Regions from separate parts of the Homo sapiens genome. Here regions 1, 2, 3 and 5 are each linked to region 4. The links are contacts of gene promoters, found by promoter capture Hi-C in human tissues and cell types (Jung and others, 2019). All regions are on one chromosome and are shown on one strand. The core of a region is centred on a gene start or on the middle of the fragment in contact, and the rest is flanking DNA. Distances in the headings are between cores, read along the strand shown. Region 1 overlaps PBRM1 (polybromo 1). Region 2 holds the start of GLT8D1 (glycosyltransferase 8 domain containing 1). Region 3 overlaps PBRM1 (polybromo 1). Region 4 holds the start of TNNC1 (troponin C1, slow skeletal and cardiac type). Region 5 overlaps PBRM1 (polybromo 1).

Region 1 (4,082 bases), core at 1,088-3,587, 160 kb before region 4:
CTTGAAATTGCTAGAATGAGGACTAATTTCATCCTGTCCTGTTTATTGGAGAGATCCTGTAAGCTTAGAGCTTCAGAATTGAATTCCTCTGTCTTCCTTTTAAAGTCCACCCCACATGCGAGATCTAATCAAACCACATCTGACTTCAAAGTCAGGTTCTGAAATTTTTCTTTAGAGACTTCCTGAAGGTTAAAGTCATCTGTGTTCTAATCTGTGCCCAGATGTGGAGCTCTGTGGTATTGGAGCTTTGTCCTAACTTCCCTTGTATTATCCACTTGCCGAAGACTTAGAATGAGAGAACTCTTCCTGTCACATCATTGCCCCAGGATGTCTCCTTGGAGAAGGAGTTTCCACTAGGTAAAATATCTAACAAACGTTTTGCCATCATCTAACAAACTTATCTAACAGAAAAAAAAGTGCTGAGGGGAGAAAATGGCAGGAATTGTCTGAGGTCCACAATGAGCAGGAAATAAGCAGTCAGAGTGAAGACACAAGTTATGAGGATGATCCCAACTCTAGCAGGAAACAGGCTCTTGTCTGTTTTTTTCCTAATTAAATCACTTTGTTTGCCTTGAGTTATAGGCATTTCTGAAAAGCCTAAAAATCTTAAGGATAGATGTTTATTTTCTCAACTGTTAATTCTTGATTTTTCTTTCTGTGTTTTAAAAAAGTGTATTTTGAACCTTGGAGAGAAAAGATCTGGCCTTTGGCTTCTTCATGACCCAGGAGTAGTGCAAGTAGTCAGGGGACTGGACCAGAAGACCTATACAGCCACATATAGTTTGCCTGAGGAATGAACTTTCTTCCACCTAAAGGATAGGGAACAGATACAAAATATTTACCTCTAAGTACAGTTGGCCCTCTGTATCCATGGCTTCCACATCCAGGGATTCAACCAACTATGGATAGAAAAAAAAATTTTTTAATTGCATCTTTACTGTACATGTACAGACTTTTTTTCTGTCATGTCCTAAGCAATACAGTGTAACAAAACAACTATATAGCATTTTTAATGTATTAGGTATTATAAGTAATTTAGAGATGATTTGAAGTATACAGGAGGATGTGCACATGTTATTTGCAAATACTACACCATTTTGTATCAGGGACTTGAGCATCTATGTATTTCGGTATACAAGGGAGATCCTGAAACCAATTCCCCATGAATACCAAGGGATGACTATACTATAGGACCTTAGTAAATATTTTTTTAATAGAAATTAAGTTGGCCAGGCGCAGTGGCTCACGCCTGTAATCCCAACACTTTGGGAGGCCAAGGTGGGCGGATCACCTGAGGTCAGGAGTTTGAGACCAGCCTGGCTAACATGGTGAAACCCCGTCTCTACTAAAAATACAAAAATTAGCCGGGCACAGCCGAGCCCGATGGCTCAAGTCTGTAATCCCAGCACTTTGGGAGGCCGAGGCAGGCGGATCACCTGAGGTCGGGAGTTCGAGACTAGCCTGACCAACATGGAGAAACCCTGTCTACGAAAAATACAAAATTAGCCAAGCGTGGTGGTGCATGCCTGTAATCCTAGCTACTCGGGAGGCTGAGGCAAGAGAATTGCTTGAACCCAGGAGGCGAAGGTTGCGGTGAGCAGAGATCACACCGTTGCACTCCAGCCTGGGCAACAAGAGTGAAACTCCATCTCAAAAAAAAAAGCAGGGCGTCGTGGCAGGCGCCTGTAATCCCAGCTACTTGGAAGGCTGAGGCAGGAGAATCGCTTGAACCCAGGAGGCAGAGGTTGCGGTGAGCTGAGATCGTGCCATTGCACACAAGCCTGGGCAACAAGAGCGGAACTCCATCTCAAAAAAAAAAAAAAAAAAAACTAAGTCATAAGTCATTTCTTGTTATTACCTACTTCACTGTTCACTTGGAGACTGCTGGTTAGTCTGACTAGAATTTCTTTATCTGGCTAGAATTTCTTTAGCCGTGCCCTGAGTACATAAGAATAGTTAACCGGAAGCCATATCGGAAGATCATTGCTTCTAATAATTTACTAGGAAACTTACCTTGGGCAAGTCTTTTACCCCCTCTGAGCCAGTTTTCTCAGCAATTAAGAGATAGACCATCTGCTCTCTTGGAGCCCTTTTGAACTCTGGATCTAATCTATAGTCCCTTATGCTTTGTTCCATACTGCTTAAATCAGCTTCTCAGCATCACATCTCACTGGGGGAATTTGGAGAACAAGACGGATTCATGCTCAAGGATGGAAATTTTACTCTAGAAAACTCAGATTAACCACACCGCTTATTCTTTAAAGTAGGTTGGAACTGTGGAATAATGCTGATGGAGAAAGCAAGGACGACCCTGACAGAATCAATGCAAGAGAGGCTCATACCCACTGTAAAGACACTAGTCTGGCAGTCTCCTTTTGTTTTCAGACAACCAAAATACACAAGTGTTCAGGAGTACTTGTCTTAAGAGATGAAACACTTCTCTTTTTAGGTTTTTTATTTTGTTTTGTTTTTGTACTTGGAAGTGAGGATATTATAACCGTAGAGAATTGCTAGTTTTATTGCACTTTGGCTGTACTCATCTTTAAACAAAAAATATATCTCAGTTGACTATATAATTTCATTTTCTTTTGGTATCAGAGAGGATCTTATTTCAAACATTGCATTTCATGACATATCTAAAAAGTTTTTTTGGTGTTCATTAACTGCTCCTGCCAGAATTACTGTGTTTTAACTATTTTGGAAATTTTCCTAATATTTGCTTATAACTTCCAGCATGGTTACTGTGTTTGTGGCATATGTAATCAATAAATTGTAATCATTATAAAGCACCATAAATAATTTGTTTTATTTTGTGGTCATCCGTATATTAAGAAAACTGAACCTATTCTAATTTTTCCCCTTTTCTACCTCCCCCTCAACAGTAAAAAGAACATAAGAAAGCAGCGAATGAAAATCTTATTCAATGTTGTTCTTGAAGCTCGAGAGCCAGGTTCAGGCAGAAGACTTTGTGACCTATTTATGGTTAAACCATCCAAAAAGGACTATCCTGATTATTATAAAATCATCTTGGAGCCAATGGACTTGAAAATAATTGAGCATAACATCCGCAATGACAAATATGCTGGTGAAGAGGGAATGATAGAAGACATGAAGCTGATGTTCCGGAATGCCAGGCACTATAATGAGGAGGGCTCCCAGGTAAGGAGGGCCAGCGGTCCTGAAGTAGGCACATTTTGCGGGAGAGGGGTACTTATAGAATAATGCATTTTGAGAGACCAGCTCTAGAGGCTTAACTTAGATTATTCTTTTTGGTGACTAGGTTAATTGATTTTTCTTCATTGTTTACAATCAGAGGCAGTACATTATAAAGATAAACGTTCCTACTTTGTAATCTGACATCCTAGATTTGAATTTTGCTCTGCCAGTCCCTGTGTAAGTAATTTATCCTTCCTGAGCCTCAATTTCTTCATCTATAAATTAGGGCTAATAATAGTACTTGCATCAGGGTTGTTGTAGGATTTAAAAGAGATAATGTATACTGAGCATTTAGCAGAGTGCCTGGTACTGAATAAGCACTCAAAGGAAAGCCAATAGTATTAAAATCTTTCATCATCATCATTACTACGATCCTCAACGACCATACTTCTCCAAAGACAGCCTATATAGAAAATGTATAATTATATAAAAATCAGCATGATAGTCCCATAAATGTACCTCTAAATAATTTATTTAATTGATTTTGCTACAGAGCATCTTGATTTTTTTTTGAGACGGAGTCTCGCTCTGTCGCCCAGGCTGGAGTGCAGTGGCGCCATCTCAGCTCACTGCAAGCTCCGCCTCCCGGGTTCATGCCATTCTCCTGCCTCAGCCTCCCGAGTAGCTGGGACTACAGGTGCCCACCACCACGCCCAGCTAATTTTTTGTACTTTTAGTAGAGATGGGGTTTCACCATGTTAGCCAGGATGGTCTTGATCTCCTGACGTCGTGATCCCCCTGCCTCAGCCTCCCAAAGTTCTGGGATTACAGGCGTGAGCCACTGCGCCTGGCCAAAGCTTCTTGATTTTTAGTTCTTTATCGTTGTAACTGAGATACAGTCTCCCTTCTTTGAAACTTTTTCTATT
Region 2 (4,427 bases), core at 681-3,180, 250 kb before region 4:
GCCGGCGATAGATGGGCCATGGAGGAAGTGTCAGCTGGGCCAGAAAAGAGGAAATGCATAAATTATAGCTATTAAAAGTTTAAAAAATCATTACGTATAATGCCAGGTTCCCAAATGACTCCTATGCTGAGGGAACAAAAAAACAAAAAAAAAAATCCATATTCCTATAAAGGCTCTGTGCCACCATCCATGCAAAATACTGTATGATGATGGGAACAGGCTCACTGCCTATACAAATGGCTTTAAGACCTAAAAGAAAGGTGGGGGCCAGGCGTGGTGGCTCTCGCCTGTAATCCAAGCACTCTGGGAGGCCAAGGTGGGCGGATTGCTTGAGACCAGCCTGGCCAACACAGTGAAGCCCTGTCTTTACTAAAAATACAAAAATTAGCTGGGTGTGGTGGTGGGCTCCTGTAGTCACAGCTACTCGGGAGGCTGAGGCAGGAAAATCTATTAAACCCGGGAGGCAGAAGGTGCAGTGAGCCGAAATCGCCCCAGTGCACTGCAGCCTGGGCAACAAGAGTGAAACTCCGTCTCAAAAAATTTAAATAAATAAATAAATAAAAGGTGAAGGGACAACGTGAGCACCATGAAAACTCCTGCTGGCTTTGACCTTAAGATTATTAGCCAGAGTAGCCGCCAAAGGAAATAAGCTGTGTCCTTTTATATAGTTCGCACCATCTGACACTATTTTGGCATTCTACTTTTCCAATGATAGCAAAGGGAAACGCTGTTTGGAAGGATGAGGGAAACGTTGGCTTTGGGTCTCACTACTGAGTAGGTCTAACCAAACCAACCCGACTCACAAAACCCAAGCTGCCACTAATACCCACAAATTTCTTACCAAACATGAAAAAGCAAATCCGGCCATAACTATATAGACAGTCCACCCGAACTGTTCAGCCACGTACCCGTAGATAAATCCAACTATCTAGAGACAAATGAAGTATATTAAACACACTCAAACTGAGGGTTGGGAGGGAGGCGGGGGCGGAGATTAAATGTAAAACCAATACTTACTGCAGAAAAAAGAATAATTCCCTGAAACATCTGTTCAGCTAGCTTCTGGCCCTTGTAATCCTGGGGTGAAGCAGAGGAAAAAAAGAATTGGTTCCACCGCCGAGAACATACAATTCCTGCCCTGACCTCACAACTCTGGCACAGGGTAACCCCAACATCAGGGTCTCCCGCTCTCCTAAGGGCCTGGGCAAGATATTAAATTCTGGGCTTCCCGGGAGGAACTGAAACACCCTCACGGAGAATGGACAGGAGATTCTCGCGGAGTAGAAGAGAAGGGGACCCAGGAGGCAATTCGGGAAAGAGGGTGGACGGTAACCATCCGGGCCCGGAACAGCGCAGCACCGGGTCGGTGCTCCAACATGGGCTTCGAAGCTGCCAGGCACAAGAACGGCGTGCAGAGGTCCCCGGGTTGCGCCCTCACCATCTGCGTGGGCAGCGAGCTCAGATGCTCCAGCATGGCTGGCTGAGGAGGCGGGCAGCTGAGCGCGGGTGGCAGGCTGCGAGGCGAGGGCGACCGAGACTTAAGGACCGTGAGGGGTAAGGTCTGGCACTGCGCGTCAGTAGCCGGGCCTTCTAAGCCCGGGAGAGCGATGGCGGCGGCCCCGGAAGCGGAAGTCTCCGACGGGCCGGTACAGCCCGTGTCCCCGCCCCGCGCCATCGCTAGGCGACGTGCGCTTTTGCCGCGCCGTGCTGCCCGCGAGGGCAGCTGAGGTGGTGGTGGCGGCCGCCTTGTCGAGGCATCGCGCGCCCGTGAAGTGTTCGCCGTCAGTGCTGTTGGGTGCCTGGAGCCGCGTCCCCCGTCCCGAAAACTGTCCTTGACAGTACTTGCGCGGCCCAACGGCCGCCGGCGCCCCCGCGTCTCCATGGCGACGGCCTTTTTCCCTGCGAGGACCCCGGCGGCAGGGCTGCCCCGCGGCGCCTGCTTGGCGCGACGCTCTAGCGGTTACCGCTGCGGGCTGGCTGGGCGTAGTGGGGCTGCGCGGCTGCCACGGAGCTAGAGGGCAAGTGTGCTCGGCCCAGCGTGCAGGGAACGCGGGCGGCCAGACAACGGGCTGGGCTCCGGGGCCTGCGGCGCGGGCGCTGAGCTGGCAGGGCGGGTCGGGGCGCGGGCTGCATCCGCATCTCCTCCATCGCCTGCAGTAAGGGCGGCCGCGGCGAGCCTTTGAGGGGAACGACTTGTCGGAGCCCTAACCAGGGGTATCTCTGAGCCTGGTGGGATCCCCGGAGCGTCACATCACTTTCCGATCACTTCAAAGTGTAAGGGGGGCCCTACTGACCCTTGGAATTTAGGGGGGCTACCCTAGGCGGCATCCACAACAGAGAGAATTCCCTTGGAGAGGGGACCCTGGTGCTCGGCTGTCCCTCTCATCCGCGTAGAAAGTCCCTCATCTGGGGGCTCCCGAACTCAGCCCTCTCACATTGTGGCCGGCTTTACTGACCCTCACAGACCCAGGCTGGGCCCTCCCGATAGAGGCCAGCCAAAGGTTCACTCAGCCTCTCTTTCAAGGCTGGTGTATCTCTAAATCTTAGACCCTCCTCCGTTACCGTCAGCCAGGTGGGATGCCCACGTTTTGGAGAGAAACCGTTCTGAGGAACCCGGGCCTCTGGGTCCCAGCTGGCTCTCCGGCCCCCAGGTTATGTATTCTGGGTTGGCCACAAACAGTGGAATTCTAGGCACTCCCGGGACAGGGTGGGACTGCTGTCCTCATTCATGCAACCAGCAAATATTCACGGCACCTTGTTTGTGCCAGACAGCAGACCGAGGACACGGTTGTTACCAAGACCAGGCTGTTGCCTTGGAAGAGCCCAGAGCGTGTCAAGGGAGACAGCCACATCACGCCAGAAATACATGACAGCTGGATTAGCCCTGGGAGAGGGAGGCCCAGATGTGGGAGCTCAGGGGAGGTGCAGCTCAACGTGGAGTTTGGAGGAGGCTACCTTGACCTTTGAATGCCAAGTGGGAGCCAGCCAGATGAAAGGGTAGGAGAAAGTGTTTGTATATCCTCAGTGCCCTTTCATCCTTGCACGTGGCAGAGACCAAACAGTAAAATGCAGACACGTTTGACACTTTTCTGACCTCAGAAGGACTCAGGACGTGTAGAAGGCAGAAAGAGGGATGGGCAAGAGTTTATTCCTGTTTCCTTCTCATGCTCTGTATTTCTTGGTGTGTTTGAAGAGACTTTCTGTTGTGTGTATAAATAGATATATCTCTGTGTGGTCTTTTTTTTTTTTTTTTTTTTTTTTTGAGGCGAAGACTCGCTCTGTTGCCCAGGCTGGAGTGCAGTGGTGCGATCGCGGCTCACTGCAACCTCCGCCTCCTGGGTTCAAGGGATTGTCCTGCCTCAGCCTTCTGAGTAGCTGGGATTACAGGCATGCGCCACCACGCCCGGCTAATTTTTGTGATTTTAGTGGAGACGGGGTTTCACTGTGTTGGCCAGACTAGTCTCAAACGCCTGACCTCAAGTGATCCACCCACCTCGGCCTTCCAAAGTGCTGGGATTACAGGCATGAGCCACCGCGCCCGGCCAGTGCGGTCTTTTTTTTTTGTATCCACAGTTTTGTATCCTTGGATTCAACCAACCACGGACTGAAATTACAGATACAGAGGGCTGACTGTAATATGCCATTTTACATAAGGGACTTGAGCATCCGTGAATTTTTGTATACATGGGGAGTCCTGGAGCCAATCCCCGACTGATACTGAGGACCAACTGTGTTGCTAATCAAATTGTACACAATTATATACTCTTACGAAAATGTAGTTAACTATTACAGATCCAGCGTCTGTGTGCAATTTCGTTTTGAGAATTCCTTCTAACCAGATCAGGAAAGCTCTCTTACCAGGAATAGCCCCAGGAAAGACAATATGGATTAGACGTACTCCATGATAACTGGCGTTTTGCATGTAGGTAACTGTGGAAGTTTTAGGAGCAACTGGTTTCTGCCTTGCCAGTCTACTTAAGTATGTCAGATACTTGATAGAATTGTGTTTTTCTTGTTTCCAGCCAAGTGTGCCTCTTGATCCCGTAACTGCTAACTGGAAGTCAAGAAACTAAAAACATTATCTCTTGTACCATTAATTAAGTGGGATTTATTTGAGTGCAAGATCGTTTTCTCAGTGGTGGTGGAAGTTGCCTCATCGCAGGCAGATGTTGGGGCTTTGTCCGAACAGCTCCCCTCTGCCAGCTTCTGTAGATAAGGTCAGCCCATAATGTGATAGAGGCATATGACTTAGGGTATATACTGATGTATATACTTCTCTTTTTTTTTTTTTTTTTTTGAGACAGAGTCTTACTCTGTTGCCCAGGCTGGAGTGCAGTGGCACGGTCTCAGCTCACTGCAACCTCCGCCTCCCGGGTTCAAGGGATTCTCTTGCCTCAGCCTCTCAAATAGCTGGGATTACAGGCACC
Region 3 (3,908 bases), core at 16-2,515, 200 kb before region 4:
TTCAAGGCCGCAGTGAGCTGTGATCATGCCACTTCACTCCAACCTAGGCAACAGAAAGAGACCCCGTCTCTTTTTCTCTCTCTCGCTCTCTGTCAACTCTCATTCACACATGCACACATACACACAAAATAGAAGTACTGTCTTCGCTCAAGATTTATTCTTACCCTGCAGGAGATAATCAGTGATGGTCAAATCAACAACAGTGATATGGGGCAATGAAACATCAATAATTAGTTCCCCCCATTCCCCCTTCAAGGTCACCTTGAAGGAGCTGGTTGGGAAAAGCAGGTTTCTATTGGTCTCTCAGGGTGTGACAGTTTGAAAGACAACAAGGATTGACAGCTGAAGGGGCAGGACAGTTTTCACCTTTCCTTAGTAAGTCCGTCCCAAGCAAGCTGGCTGCATGGGAGAGATAGATTGGGAATTTGTGGGATTGGATGACTTTGAATTACTTTGTACTCCATGCTGGGTGGCCTTGCCATAATTTGTCCTCTGAACTTTCTCTCAGAAGTAGAACTGGTGAAGAGAAGGGGCAGCAATGGAGATTCATCCAAGTAAAGGAAGGAGTAGGGTTAAGAAAGTAGTGGTAAGCTTAGGGGACAGATGAGATAAAACAACACTGAGATAATCTGTTCAGCCCAGTAACTGAGTGAAGGCTGTGGCTTTCTGCTTTTGTTGTTGCTGCGTGGGCTTCAGTAGGGTTTGAACAGGTGGGAAGAGTTGGGAGAGCACAATCTGACTTCCCCTGAACCTCTCCCATCTGATAAGACCAACTTTTGATATTTGGGCAACTTCAGTTATTTCCTCCAAGGAAGAAAATCTGTAGGAAAGCCTGAGTGCAGTGAGTGATTCTAGGTTGTTGTGAAAGCTTCAAGGACATTCCTCAACATGTTCAATTTCTTGGGATGACCTAGTATTTGATAAATCAGAAGTTGCTAATAATTTTGCTTCATTTCTTTTCTTTTTTCAAGACAGTCTTGCTCTGTCACCCAGGCTGGAGTGCAGTGGCGTGATCTCAGCCCACTGCAACCTCTGCCTCCCAGGTTCAAGCGATTCTCCTGCCTCAGCCTCCTGAGTAGCTGGAATTACAGGCACCCGCCACCACACCCAGCTAATTTTTGTATTTTTAGTAGAGACGGGGTTTCACCATATTGGCCAGGCTGGTCTTGAACTCCTGACCTCGTGATCTGCCCGTCTCGGCCTCCCGAAGTGCAGGGATTACAGGCATGAGCCACCATGCCTGACCAGAATTTTGCTTCATTTCTTTCTTTCTTTTTTTTTTTTTTGAGACAGAATTCTGCTCTTCTTGCCCAGGCTGGAGTGCAATGGAGCAATCTCAGCTCACTGCAACCTCCACCTCCCAGGTTCAAGCGATTCTCCTGCCTCAGCCTCCCAAGTAGCTGGGATTACATGCATGCACCAACATACCAGGCTAATTTTGAATTTTTAGTAGAGATGGGGTTTCACCATGTTGGCCAGGCTAGTCTCGAACTCCTGACTTCAGGTGATCCACCCACCTCAGCCTCCCAAAGTGCTGGGATTACAGGCGCGAGCCACCATGCCCAGCCGTGCTTCATTTCTTTAACAAAGTTTCATTCAAAAGGTATTTTGTTTTGAAAAAACTTACTTTGACTGAAATAAGCAGAAGCATCAAGTTAAACATGAAGCTAACAAATTTTGCAACCTGACTTCTTACAGATCCTTATGAAAGTTTATGTGAATATTATATAATAACGTTATTTAGATTGCAAAATTAAAAGAGCTTGTAACAAACTCCTAAAGAGCATTTCTTCTACTTTATTTCTAGGCATAGATATCTTGGGACCTTAAATGAAAAATTGTATAATTCTGTGAATTTAGAATTTTTGTTTGTTTTTTGAGACGGAATCTTGCTCTGTTGCACAGGCTGGAGTACAATGGCGTGATCTCGGCTCACTGCAACCTCCATCTCCTGCGCTCAAGTGATTGCCCTGCCTTAGCCTCCTGAGTAGCTGGGATTACAGGCGCACACCACCATGCCTGGCTAATTTTTGTATTTTTAATGGAGACAGGGTTTCGCTATGTTGGCCAGGTTGGTCTTGAACTTCTGACCTCAAGTGATCCAGCTGCCTCAGCATCCCGAAGTGCTGGGATTACAGGTGTGAGCCACCGCGCCTTGCCGAATTTAGATTATTTATTTTTTTTTTGAGATGGAGTCTTGCTGTGCCGCCCAGGCTGGAGTGCAGTGGCATGATCTCGGCTCGCTGCAACCTCTGCCTCTTGGGTTCAAGCGATTCTCCTCCCTCAGCCTCCAGAGTAGCTGGGACTATAGTTGTATGCCACCATGCCCAGCCAATTTTTTTTCTATTTTTAGTAGAGACAGGGTTTCACCACGTTAGCCAGGATGGTCTCAATCTCCTGACCTCGTGAACCACCCGCCTCGGCCTCCCAAAGTTCTGGGATTACAGGTGTGAGCCACCGTGCCCTGCCTAGAATTTTTTTTTTTTTTTTTGAGACGAAGTCTCTTTCTTGTCCCCCAGGCTGGAGTATAATGGCACGATCTCAGCTCACTGCAATCTCTGCCTCCCAGGTTCAAGCGATCCTCTTGCCTCAGCCTCCTGAGTAGCTGGGATTACAGGTGCCTGCCACCACGCCCGGCTAATTTTTGTATTTTTAGTAGAGATGGGGTTTCACCATGTTGGCCAGGCTGGTCTTGAACTCCTGACCTCAGGTGATCCACCTGCCTCGGCCTCCCAAAGTGCTGGGATTGCAGGCGTGAGCTACCGCACCCGGCCCCAGCCTAGAATTTTTTAAAACATTAAATTTTATGCTAGTTGCATAATAACACTCAAAATACCAAGTTTTAACTCCTAAGTCATGCTGTTGGATAGATCATGAAGCTTCTTAAGATTAAATTCTTTATGGTTCTGATATAATAAATGTGCTGTACAGCCATGTCTTTAGTCTTGAATCTCACAAAGCTGCTTCACTGGTTGTTTGAACAACAGATTGTCAATGTACTTCCTTCTCTTTTCATTAGCTGAATAGTTTAACTTATTGAGCATGCCTGGTTTTTTGTCTTCCAGCAATATCCAGATTATTATGCAATAATTAAGGAGCCTATAGATCTCAAGACCATTGCCCAGAGGATACAGGTATGAAGATGACCATAAGTAAATGATTGTGGTTTAGAGCAGATTGGCCTATGATCTTTCCTAGAAGCTTTTAGAAAACAGAGAAGCTAGTTGTCTCTGTAAGGGGTTATTAGCAAATCATGTAAATAAATTAAAATAGTGTTACTGATTGTAGCTTTGGATTGCATCTTAGGACAAAAATTAAAACACATTGGTTACCGACATTTCTGATTATAAAAGATACATTTGTGACAAAAGATTTATTTCATTTTTAATTTTTAAATTTTTTATTTTTGTGGGTGCATAGCAGGTGTATGTATTTATGGGGTACATGAAATTTTGATACTGGCATACAGTGCATAATAATCACATCAGGGTAGATGGGGTAACCTGTTGTTTATTTTTATCTGCTTCCAAATAGCTTTAGGATACGTTAGAATAAAAGCTACCCACAACGGATGTTAGAGTGGAAGGTCAGTGGAATTAGATACTACTTTTTTCTCTTTGGCCCTCTCTACCCTACCCCTTCACTGTATCCCTGGCAGTAAATAGTGGCAACTAAACACTCACATAGACTTGCTATGTACCTAGCACTGTTTTAAGTGCTTTATGTGTATTAGCTAATTAATTCTTAAAACTCCACAGAGTAGTATTGTTATTATTCCCATTTTACAAGTTAGAAAACTGAAGCACAGAAGTGTTAAGTAACTTGCCCAAATCACCGCCTAGGAAGGAGAACTAGGATTTGAATCCAGACAGTCTAGCTGTAGTCTGTGTTCTCAACCCTTACACTTA
Region 4 (4,156 bases), core at 932-3,431:
CCACCTCAGGCTCCCCAGATCAGGGTCCTGACGCCTTCTCTTTCTTCAAGGCCTGCGAAGCCTGACCCTTTTCCCTGATTCCATCCATCAGAGACCCTCTCCCCATCGCCTTCCTCCTGGACCCCTGTAACGGTCTTCCAGGCCGGGGCCCCTCCAGTCCTAGAGGATCTAGAGGGGTTCCGCCTCATCTAGACACCCCCCTCCCCAAGCCCCCTTTATCCCCAGATGCCGCCCCCAACCCGAGCCTCCCTTTCTGATCGCGTACCCTTTTCCAAACCGCCTCCCCGGGCCCCGAGCAACCCTTCTCCCGGACCTGCGGGGCCCAGATCCCTTTCCTAGATCCCCCGTCCCAGCCCCCTCCTCGCAATCGCAGACCCTTCTACCCGCTCCTCGGGGCTGCAGATCCCGGACCCCTCCCCAAGCCCCCGAGTCGGACTCCCGGTTCCAGCCACCACCCCCGCTTCGGGTGCCCGCGCCCCCAACACACCGTATAAGTGTCCACAAGCTCCGAGCCCACGACGCGCGCTTCCTTGGCCGGCTCGGCTTCCCGCTCGGGCCCGAAGGTGCGCGCGGTCGCCATGTTCGGGTCTCCGCCGCCACCGCCGCCCGGCGCAGACTAGCAGCAGCAGGGGGCGGGGTCAACGTCCCACCGCCCCCCGGCCCCCGCCGCCCGTCGCCCCCGCCGCGCGCTGCGCCGCCATCTTGGCCCCGCCTTCTTCCTGCGCCCTCGCCCCGCCCCCGCGCGTGACTGACAGGGGCCACTCAGGGCGCGCGTGCGAGGTGCTCGCTTGCGTAATCTACCTGCGTGGCGCCGCCGGCGGTACCCTGCACAGCCTGCTAGAAACTGAGACCCCGGGTGGTGACAGCTCTGGGCATCGCCCCTGGGTCCTCGGGAAGAGGGGACAGAAGGTCCCGAGTCTCCCAGGCCACACGAAGCAAGTCACTGCTCTTCCTGGCCTCAGTTTACTCCTCCTGATAAAGGAGGCCATAATAGTGCCTCACCTGGCTGTTGGGCTCTTTCTCTTTAGGGCAAGGCAGGTTGGAGGGGAAAATAGGACCTGTGCTTACCGCCGGAGCAGGGCGAGAGTGATTCTGGGCCAGTTCTGAACCTCTCTGAGATTCGGAGATCTCTTGTCAGTGGGGCTTCTGGACAACTGAGTGGGTTGATTGATGCGCGGCCCAGCACGCAGTAGTGCTCGAGGCAGGGAGCGTGTTTATCAAGAGGGATAAACTTGATACGAACTCTGTACGAAGGAAGGTGTAGGTGGATGGAGGGGTGTGTGCTGCCACTGAGCACAAGAACCCCACGGGGTGGCCTGCCAAAGTTCAAAACGAGGGAGACAGGTTGATCTGGACCCAGGAACTACAGTGCTGAATCCTAAACCGGGGAAAGATGAGACCTAGAAGAGGGAGGTGGTAACCTAATTGGAGGGTGAGGAGGGAAAGAGCCTGCCACAGATGGGGCATCTATAGGGGTGCTGTTGAATAACTGAGAGCAGCTGACTTAAGCCCGAAGTGGGTACTTCTCCCTGGGCAGATGGGAGGTCTGGGACAGGCTCCTCTGGCAGAAGGGCTCCTGGCCACCCTGTCCTAAGGTGGGTCAGTCACTTCCTCCTTCACCAGTTCCACAGCATCTTACTATGAGCTTGGCATTCGAGGCTTCTCTTGGCAGGGCCCTGCACTCCTAGCCTCTCCTTGCACATTGCACCCCCATTCCAGAGAGGTTTAGTTAAAGGCGGGGGTTACCAAGTCAGTCAGATCTTGGGCAAGTCACCACTCCTCCAGAGCCTCAGTTTCCTTATCTGGAAAGTGGAGGTCATGGCAACCCGCCAACCTGGTTGGATGGGAGCCTGAGCTGTTGTGTTGCACCTTGCCTGGGGCCCACGACTTTGTAGCTCCTGTCCTGCACTGGGCTTATGTTTTCATTCATTCCAGAAACCTTTTCAGAGAGTCCCTTTGGGGAGTGTGGGGGACAGGAGGGAAAGAAACCTGGTCCTTGTAGCCGTTCGTCTGCTCCCTGCCCTGGGCAGAGGACGTGGGGACTCAGGCCAGCCTGAGATCACTGGGACCAGAGGAGGGGCTGGAGGATACTACACGCAGGGGTGGGCTGGGCTGGGCTGGGCTGGGCCAGGAATGCAGCGGGGCAGGGCTATTTAAGTCAAGGGCCGGCTGGCAACCCCAGCAAGCTGTCCTGTGAGCCGCCAGCATGGATGACATCTACAAGGCTGCGGTGAGGGACAGGGCTGGGTAGGGCTGGGGTGGGCAGGCCCACTGGGGGCTCACTCAGCTGAGAGTGCGGGGTTAGTAGCCCCAGGGAAGTGGTGGGGACCAAGGAGAAGGCCTACGTGCCTTCAACCCAGGCCCTCACAGGGACAGTGATTCTGGTGTTTGAGGATGCAGAAGGGGTAGGGGGTTCCGGGTCTGAAGGGTGGTGGAGGAGGTTGCAGCTTTCAGCATCGTGTCTCACTCTCTGTTTCCAAGTGTCTGTGGTCTGTGGCACTGTCGCTCAGCCACATGTCTCTGCATTTGTCTCTGGACGTTTTTGCCTTTCTCTTTTCATCTCTTCCTCCTGAGCTGTCTGAGTCCCCATTACTGTCTCCCTGTCCCCAACCCCCATTTCTGCCCCTCACATTCTGCTTCTCACATGCTCAAAATCTGCCACCCCACTCCAGCCCCTTGGCGGGCCGAAGATGCTTTGGAGGGTGGAGGGTGTGAGAGGAGGGGTCTGTAGAGCCTGAGTCCTGGGCTGGAGATGGGGCTTTGAAGTTTGAGGCAGGGAAGTTCTGGACATGAGGGAGAACCAAGGAAGAAGGAACAGAGAACTGGGGCCCCAGCTCCCATCATGCCTGGCAGGCTCAGGGCTCAGTGGCTTAGCTAGGGGTGAGAGCGAGGGAATGAGGGCTGGAGAGTGGTCACCCCAAGCCCCTGCAACCTCCTGGGTCACTGAGGGTCTTCAGATGCTATTCTATCCTGGGTGGTGGTGACCTCCCCCAACCCCAGAGCAAGGACATCCTGGCATGGCCAGCTGTCCCCAGGGGAACCCCTCCCTCAGCCTCCCTCACTCCTGGGCAGGGAAGTGCTATAGCCAGCTCTGGGGGCACGCCTGCTTATCCTGTGGGAGTCCATGGAGCCGGGGTTGGGACAGCCCTCCACCCAGTGCCCATACAAGGCCTGGCGGAGTTGGGGACTAATTTTGGCTTCTGAGGCGGCACTAGCAGGCCAGGGGGCCAGATAACGCTGCCCCACCCCCTGCATGCCAAAGTCCCCAGAACAATCACCAGGTTTAACTTTGTTCCTCGTTAAAAATAGCCCAGTGGCCACCCTGGTCAGGTTACCGTGGGTGGCTTGCCTGCCTCCACACTGGTTTTATTATCCCAACTTGAGGGACAGCTGTCCTTCGGGCCACCCAGCTTGAGTTTCATCAGGGGCCGAAAGGGCATTGAGTGGTCACTGACTATTGTTACTGAGGGTCACCTTGGTCCTGAAGGGGGTGCCCACCTGTCACCCTGGCCCTGAGCCCAGTCGCAGTGAGGCCAGCTGGGTCACGTCAGGGCTTTGGGGGCAGGGAGGGAGGACTGAGACCTCCACTCTGTGGCCTGGAAATAGCCTGCCTCCTCCAGCTCCAGCCTTCTCACCTGTGGAATGGGTTGGTTTCCTCAGCAGCAGCTATACCTGAGTCTGAGCCTTGAGATTCCCTTTCCTTTCTAGGTAGAGCAGCTGACAGAAGAGCAGAAAAATGGTGAGAATCCCTATCACACATGTGGGAGACCAGCGGGTCCAGGCTGGCATGGGGACCCCTTATCAGAAGAGGACCCCAGGCCAGAGACCAGAGGCTTGGTCCCTCTTGCTCTGCCCTCAGAGAGGTCTCCGAGGGAGGTGGGCAGGTTGGCAGGTGGCCCCAGGGTTCTGGCCCTCCGTGGTCCTGGCTGCTGAGCCCTGACTACTGTGCCCCCCAACCCCTGAACACAGAGTTCAAGGCAGCCTTCGACATCTTCGTGCTGGGCGCTGAGGATGGCTGCATCAGCACCAAGGAGCTGGGCAAGGTGATGAGGATGCTGGGCCAGAACCCCACCCCTGAGGAGCTGCAGGAGATGATCGATGAGGTGGACGAGGACGGTGAGCCCCCTCCTCCCCAGGCTCCAGAAGAACCCCAGCT
Region 5 (3,989 bases), core at 1,073-3,572, 220 kb before region 4:
ACCAAAGCGAAGGTGAGTTCGAAGCACATCAGTACAGTTGCGGGGGATTTGGTCCAGAGTCCATGTGTATTAAAGTGTTTGGAAATTGAGCTTTTTGTTGGCAGGAATGGCTTAAATGATACTGGGGTCCAATTTTAGTCTTTAGTCTTTAGTAATCAAGCTGTAGTGAAGCTTTTTTTAAATTAAAAATCTGTTGAGCCAGGCACAGTAACATGCACCTATAATCCCAGCTACTTGATTTTTTGAGCCAGGCACAGGAGCATGCACTTGTAATCCCAGCTACATGGGAGACTAAGGCAAGAGAATTGCTTGATCCAAGGAGTATGACACCAGCCTGGGCAACATAATGAGACCCCGTCTCTTAAAAACAAAAACAAAAAAAATGACCTATGCGGAAAGATCTCTTGAGGCCAAGAATTTGAGACCAGCCTGGGCAACATAGTGAGACCCATCTCTACAAAAAATTTTTTGAAAAATTAGCCAGGTGTGGTGGTGCTCACCTATAGACCCAGCTACTAGGGAGGCTGGGGTGGTAGGATTGTTTGAGCCTGGGAATTTGAGGCTGCAGTAAGCCATGAGTGTCACTGCACTCCAACCTGGGTGATGGAGCAAGAGCTTGCCTAAAAATAAATATTTAAAAAAGAGTACTGACCAGGCACAGTGGCTCACGCCTGTAATCCCACCACTTTGGGAGGTCTATAGGTGGGCAAATCACCTGAGGCCAGGAGTTCGAGACCAGCCTGGCCAACATGGCAAAACCCTGTCTCTACTAAAAAATACAAAAATTAGCCAGGTGCAAGGCTGGGCGCAATGGCTCATTCCTGTAATCCTAGCACTTTGGGAGGCGAAGGCGGGTGGATCAGCTGAGGTCAGCAGTTTGAGACCAGCCTGGCCAACGTGGTGAAACCCCGTCTCTACTAAAAATACAAAAATTAGCCAGGCTTGGTGGTGGGCGCCTGTAATCCCAGCTACTTGGGAGACTGAGGCAGGAGAATCACTTGAACCCGGGAGGTGGAGGTTGCAGTGAGCCGAGATCGTACCGTTGCACTCCAGCCTTGGTGACAAGAGTGAAACTCCATCTCAAAAAAAAAAAAAAAAAAAAAGCCGAGCATGGTGGTGGGGCGCCTGTAATCCCAGCTACTTGGGAGGCTGAGGCAGGAGAATTGCTTGAACCTGGGAGGCAGAGGTTGCAGTGAGCTGAGATCCCGCCACTGTATTCCAGCCTGGGTGATAGAGCCATTCTGTAGGTTGCCTTTTCATTTTGTACGGTGTCCTTAGATGTACAAAAGGTTTTAATTTTCATGAAGTTTATGTTGTCTTTTTCTCTTGTTGCCTGTGCCTTTGGTGTCATATCCATGAAATTAATGCCAAATCCAATATCATGAAGCTTTTCCCCTATGTTTTTGTATTAATCAGGGTTCTCTTGGACAGGACTAGGCTGCAAATTTTCCAAACTTTTATGCTCTGCTTCCCTTATAAAACTGAATGCCTTAAACAGTACCCAACTCACCTCTTGAATGCTTTGCTGCTTAGAAGTTTCTTCTGCCAGATACCCTAAATCATCTTTCTCAAGTTCAAACTTCCACAGATCTCTAGAGCAGGGGCGAAATGCCCCAGTCTCTTTGCTAAAACATAACAAAAGTCACCTTTACTCCAATTCCCAGCAAGTTCCTCATCTCCATCTGAGACCACCTCAGCCTGGACCTTATTGTCCGTATTGTTATCAGGCTTTTGGTCAAAGCCATTCAAGTCTCTAGGAAGTTCCAAACTCCCACATTTTCCTGTCTTCTTCTGAGCCCTCCAAACTGTTGCATCCTCTGCCTGTTATCCAGTTCCAAAGTCGCTTCCACATTTTCGGGTATCTTTTCAGCAGCGCCCAACTCTACTGGTATCAATTTACTGTATCAGTTGGTTTTCACACTGCTGATAAAGACATACCCGAGACTGGGAAGAAAAAGAGGTTTAACTGAACTTACAGTTCCATATGGCTGGGGAGGCCTCAGAATCATGGTGGGAGGTGAAAGGCACTTCTTACATCAGTGGCAAGAGAAAAATAAGCAAGAAGCAAAAGTGGGAACCCCTAATAAACCCATCAGATCTCATGCAACTTAATCACTATCACGAGAATAGCACGGGAAAGACTGGCCTCCATGATTCAGTTACCTCCCTCTGGGTCCCTCCCACAACATGTGGGAATTCTAGGAGATAACAATTCAAGCTGAGATTTGAATGGGGATACAGCCAAACTGTATTGGTTTTCCTCTAAGAGTTTTATAGTTTTAGCTCTTACATTTAGGCCTTTGATCCATTTTGAATTTTTATAAGTAGTGTTTAGGTAAGGATCCCGCTTCATTCATTATTTTTTTTTTTTTTTTTTTTTTTTTTTTTTTTTTTTTTGAGACGGAGTCTCGCTCTGTCGCCCAGGCTGGAGTGCAGTGGCGGGATCTCGGCTCACTGCAAGCTCCGCCTCCCGGGTTCACGCCATTCTCCCGCCTCAGCCTCCCAAGTAGCTGGGACTACAGGCGCCCGCCACTACGCCCGGCTAATTTTTTGTATTTTTAGTAGAGACGGGGTTTCACCATTTTAGCCGGGATGGTCTCGATCTCCTGACCTCGTGATCCGCCCGCCTCGGCCTCCCAAAGTGCTGGGATTACAGGCGTGAGCCACCGCGCCCGGCCCCCGCTTCATTCTTTATATGTGTGTATCCAGTTTTCCCGGTATCGTTTGTTGAAAAGACTGTGCTTTTCTCATTGAATGGTTTTGGCGCCTTTGTCAAAATTTGCTTGACCGTGTATGTGAGGGTCGTTTCTAGGCTCCATTCTATTCCATTGGTCCCTGTGTCTGTTTTTATACCAGTAGCACACATTTTGATTACTGTGAACAACATATTCAGTGGCAAAATACTTAAAGCTTTTCCTCTAAGATCACGAACAAGACAGAGATGCCCACTTTCACCACTTCAACACCTTGTTCACTGTGGAATAAATCCCACCTGGTTATGGTATATAATCCTTTTAATATCCTGCTGAATTCAGTTTGCTAATATTTTATTGAGAAATTTTGCATCAGTATTCATAAGGGATATTGATCAGTAGTTTTCTTGTAGTATCTTTGTCTGGCTTTGGTATCAGAGTAATGCTAGCTTCATAGAATAAGTTAGGACGTGACCTCGCCTCTTCAATTTTTTGGAAAAGTTTCATAAGGCTTGGTGTGTTAGTTCTTGAAATGTCTGGTTAGAATTCATCAGTGAAGCTATCAGTCTAGGGATTTTCTTTGTGGGAGATTTTTTATTACTGATTCAGTCTCCTTACTAGTTATAGGTTTACTCAGGCTTTGTATGTCTTTAGTAGGTTGTGTGTTTCTAGGAAATTATCCATTTCTTCTAGTTTATCTAATTTGTTGGCATACATGTTTTCCTAGAACTCTCATAATCCTTTTTATTTTTGTGGCATTGGTTGTAATGTCTCCTCTTTATGATTTTAGTTATTTGCATCTCTTTTCTCCCTTACTTCTTCCCTCCCTCCCTCCTCCTTTCTGTCTTTTTTTGAGACAGGATCTTGCTTTGGCACCCAGGCTGGAGTGCAGTGGCAATCACAGTTCAGTGCAGACTCAACCTCCCGGACTCAAGCAGTCCTCTCACCTGATGCTACCATACCTGGCTAATATATATGTTATATATACGTGTGTATGTATATAGTAAACACATAAAATATATATATTGTATATATAACGTATTTTTTATTTATATATGTAAAAATATGCTGGATTCTTACCTAACGCTACATACATATTAAAAAATAACGTATGTAATGTTAGGTAAGGAGATATATGTGTGTGTGTGTGTGTATATATATATATATATATATATTTTTTTTTTTTTTTTTGGTAGAGACAGGGTTTCCCTGTGTTGCCCAGGCTGGTCTCAAACTCCTGGGCTCAAGTGATCCTCCTACCTTGGCCTCCCGAAGTGCTAGGATCACAAGTGTGAG

What was found. The method cuts DNA at HindIII sites, captures the fragments that hold promoters and counts their contacts. A contact is called where the count stands out against the background at its distance.
Region 1: a fragment that was not itself captured here is called in contact with the fragment with the promoter of TNNC1 in region 4 in 2 of the 25 tissues and cell types used here (dorsolateral prefrontal cortex and mesenchymal stem cells).
Region 2: the fragment with the promoter of GLT8D1 here is called in contact with the fragment with the promoter of TNNC1 in region 4 in 1 of the 25 tissues and cell types used here (adrenal gland).
Region 3: a contact is called between a fragment that was not itself captured here and the fragment with the promoter of TNNC1 in region 4, in 1 of the 25 tissues and cell types used here (adrenal gland).
Region 5: a fragment that was not itself captured here is called in contact with the fragment with the promoter of TNNC1 in region 4 in 1 of the 25 tissues and cell types used here (dorsolateral prefrontal cortex).

The regions. Positions count from the first base shown.
Region 1 is chr3:52,616,339-52,620,420 of GRCh38, reverse strand. It overlaps PBRM1 (polybromo 1), which reads left to right. Exons shown (of 32, transcript NM_001405607.1): 16 at 2,883-3,159. Among named protein-coding and RNA genes, the nearest start is that of PBRM1, 68 kb to the left of the region's middle. The HindIII fragment of the contact is 4,614 bases long and covers 31-4,082 here.
Region 2 is chr3:52,703,294-52,707,720 of GRCh38, reverse strand. GLT8D1 (glycosyltransferase 8 domain containing 1) reads left to right here and starts at 1,930. Exons shown (of 10, transcript NM_018446.4): 1 at 1,930-2,274. It overlaps SPCS1 (signal peptidase complex subunit 1), which reads right to left and starts at 1,615. Exons shown (of 4, transcript NM_014041.5): 1 at 1,439-1,615; 2 at 1,018-1,077; 3 at 842-928; 4 at 1-34. The coding sequence starts at 1,474. RefSeq lists an enhancer at 18-87 and a silencer at 2,034-2,203. The HindIII fragment of the contact is 20,736 bases long and covers 1-4,427 here.
Region 3 is chr3:52,650,968-52,654,875 of GRCh38, reverse strand. PBRM1 (polybromo 1) reads left to right here. Exons shown (of 32, transcript NM_001405607.1): 7 at 3,066-3,134. Among named protein-coding and RNA genes, the nearest start is that of PBRM1, 33 kb to the left of the region's middle. The HindIII fragment of the contact is 3,551 bases long and covers 1-3,040 here.
Region 4 is chr3:52,452,066-52,456,221 of GRCh38, reverse strand. It overlaps TNNC1 (troponin C1, slow skeletal and cardiac type), which reads left to right and starts at 2,181. Exons shown (of 6, transcript NM_003280.3): 1 at 2,181-2,230; 2 at 3,709-3,739; 3 at 3,970-4,116. The coding sequence starts at 2,207. It overlaps NISCH (nischarin), which reads right to left and starts at 618. Exons shown (of 21, transcript NM_007184.4): 1 at 488-618. The coding sequence starts at 580. RefSeq lists a silencer at 464-693 and an enhancer at 3,319-4,139. The HindIII fragment of the contact is 8,260 bases long and covers 1-4,156 here.
Region 5 is chr3:52,674,523-52,678,511 of GRCh38, reverse strand. It overlaps PBRM1 (polybromo 1), which reads left to right. Exons shown (of 32, transcript NM_001405607.1): 3 at 1-12. Among named protein-coding and RNA genes, the nearest start is that of PBRM1, 9.4 kb to the left of the region's middle. The HindIII fragment of the contact is 3,085 bases long and covers 780-3,864 here.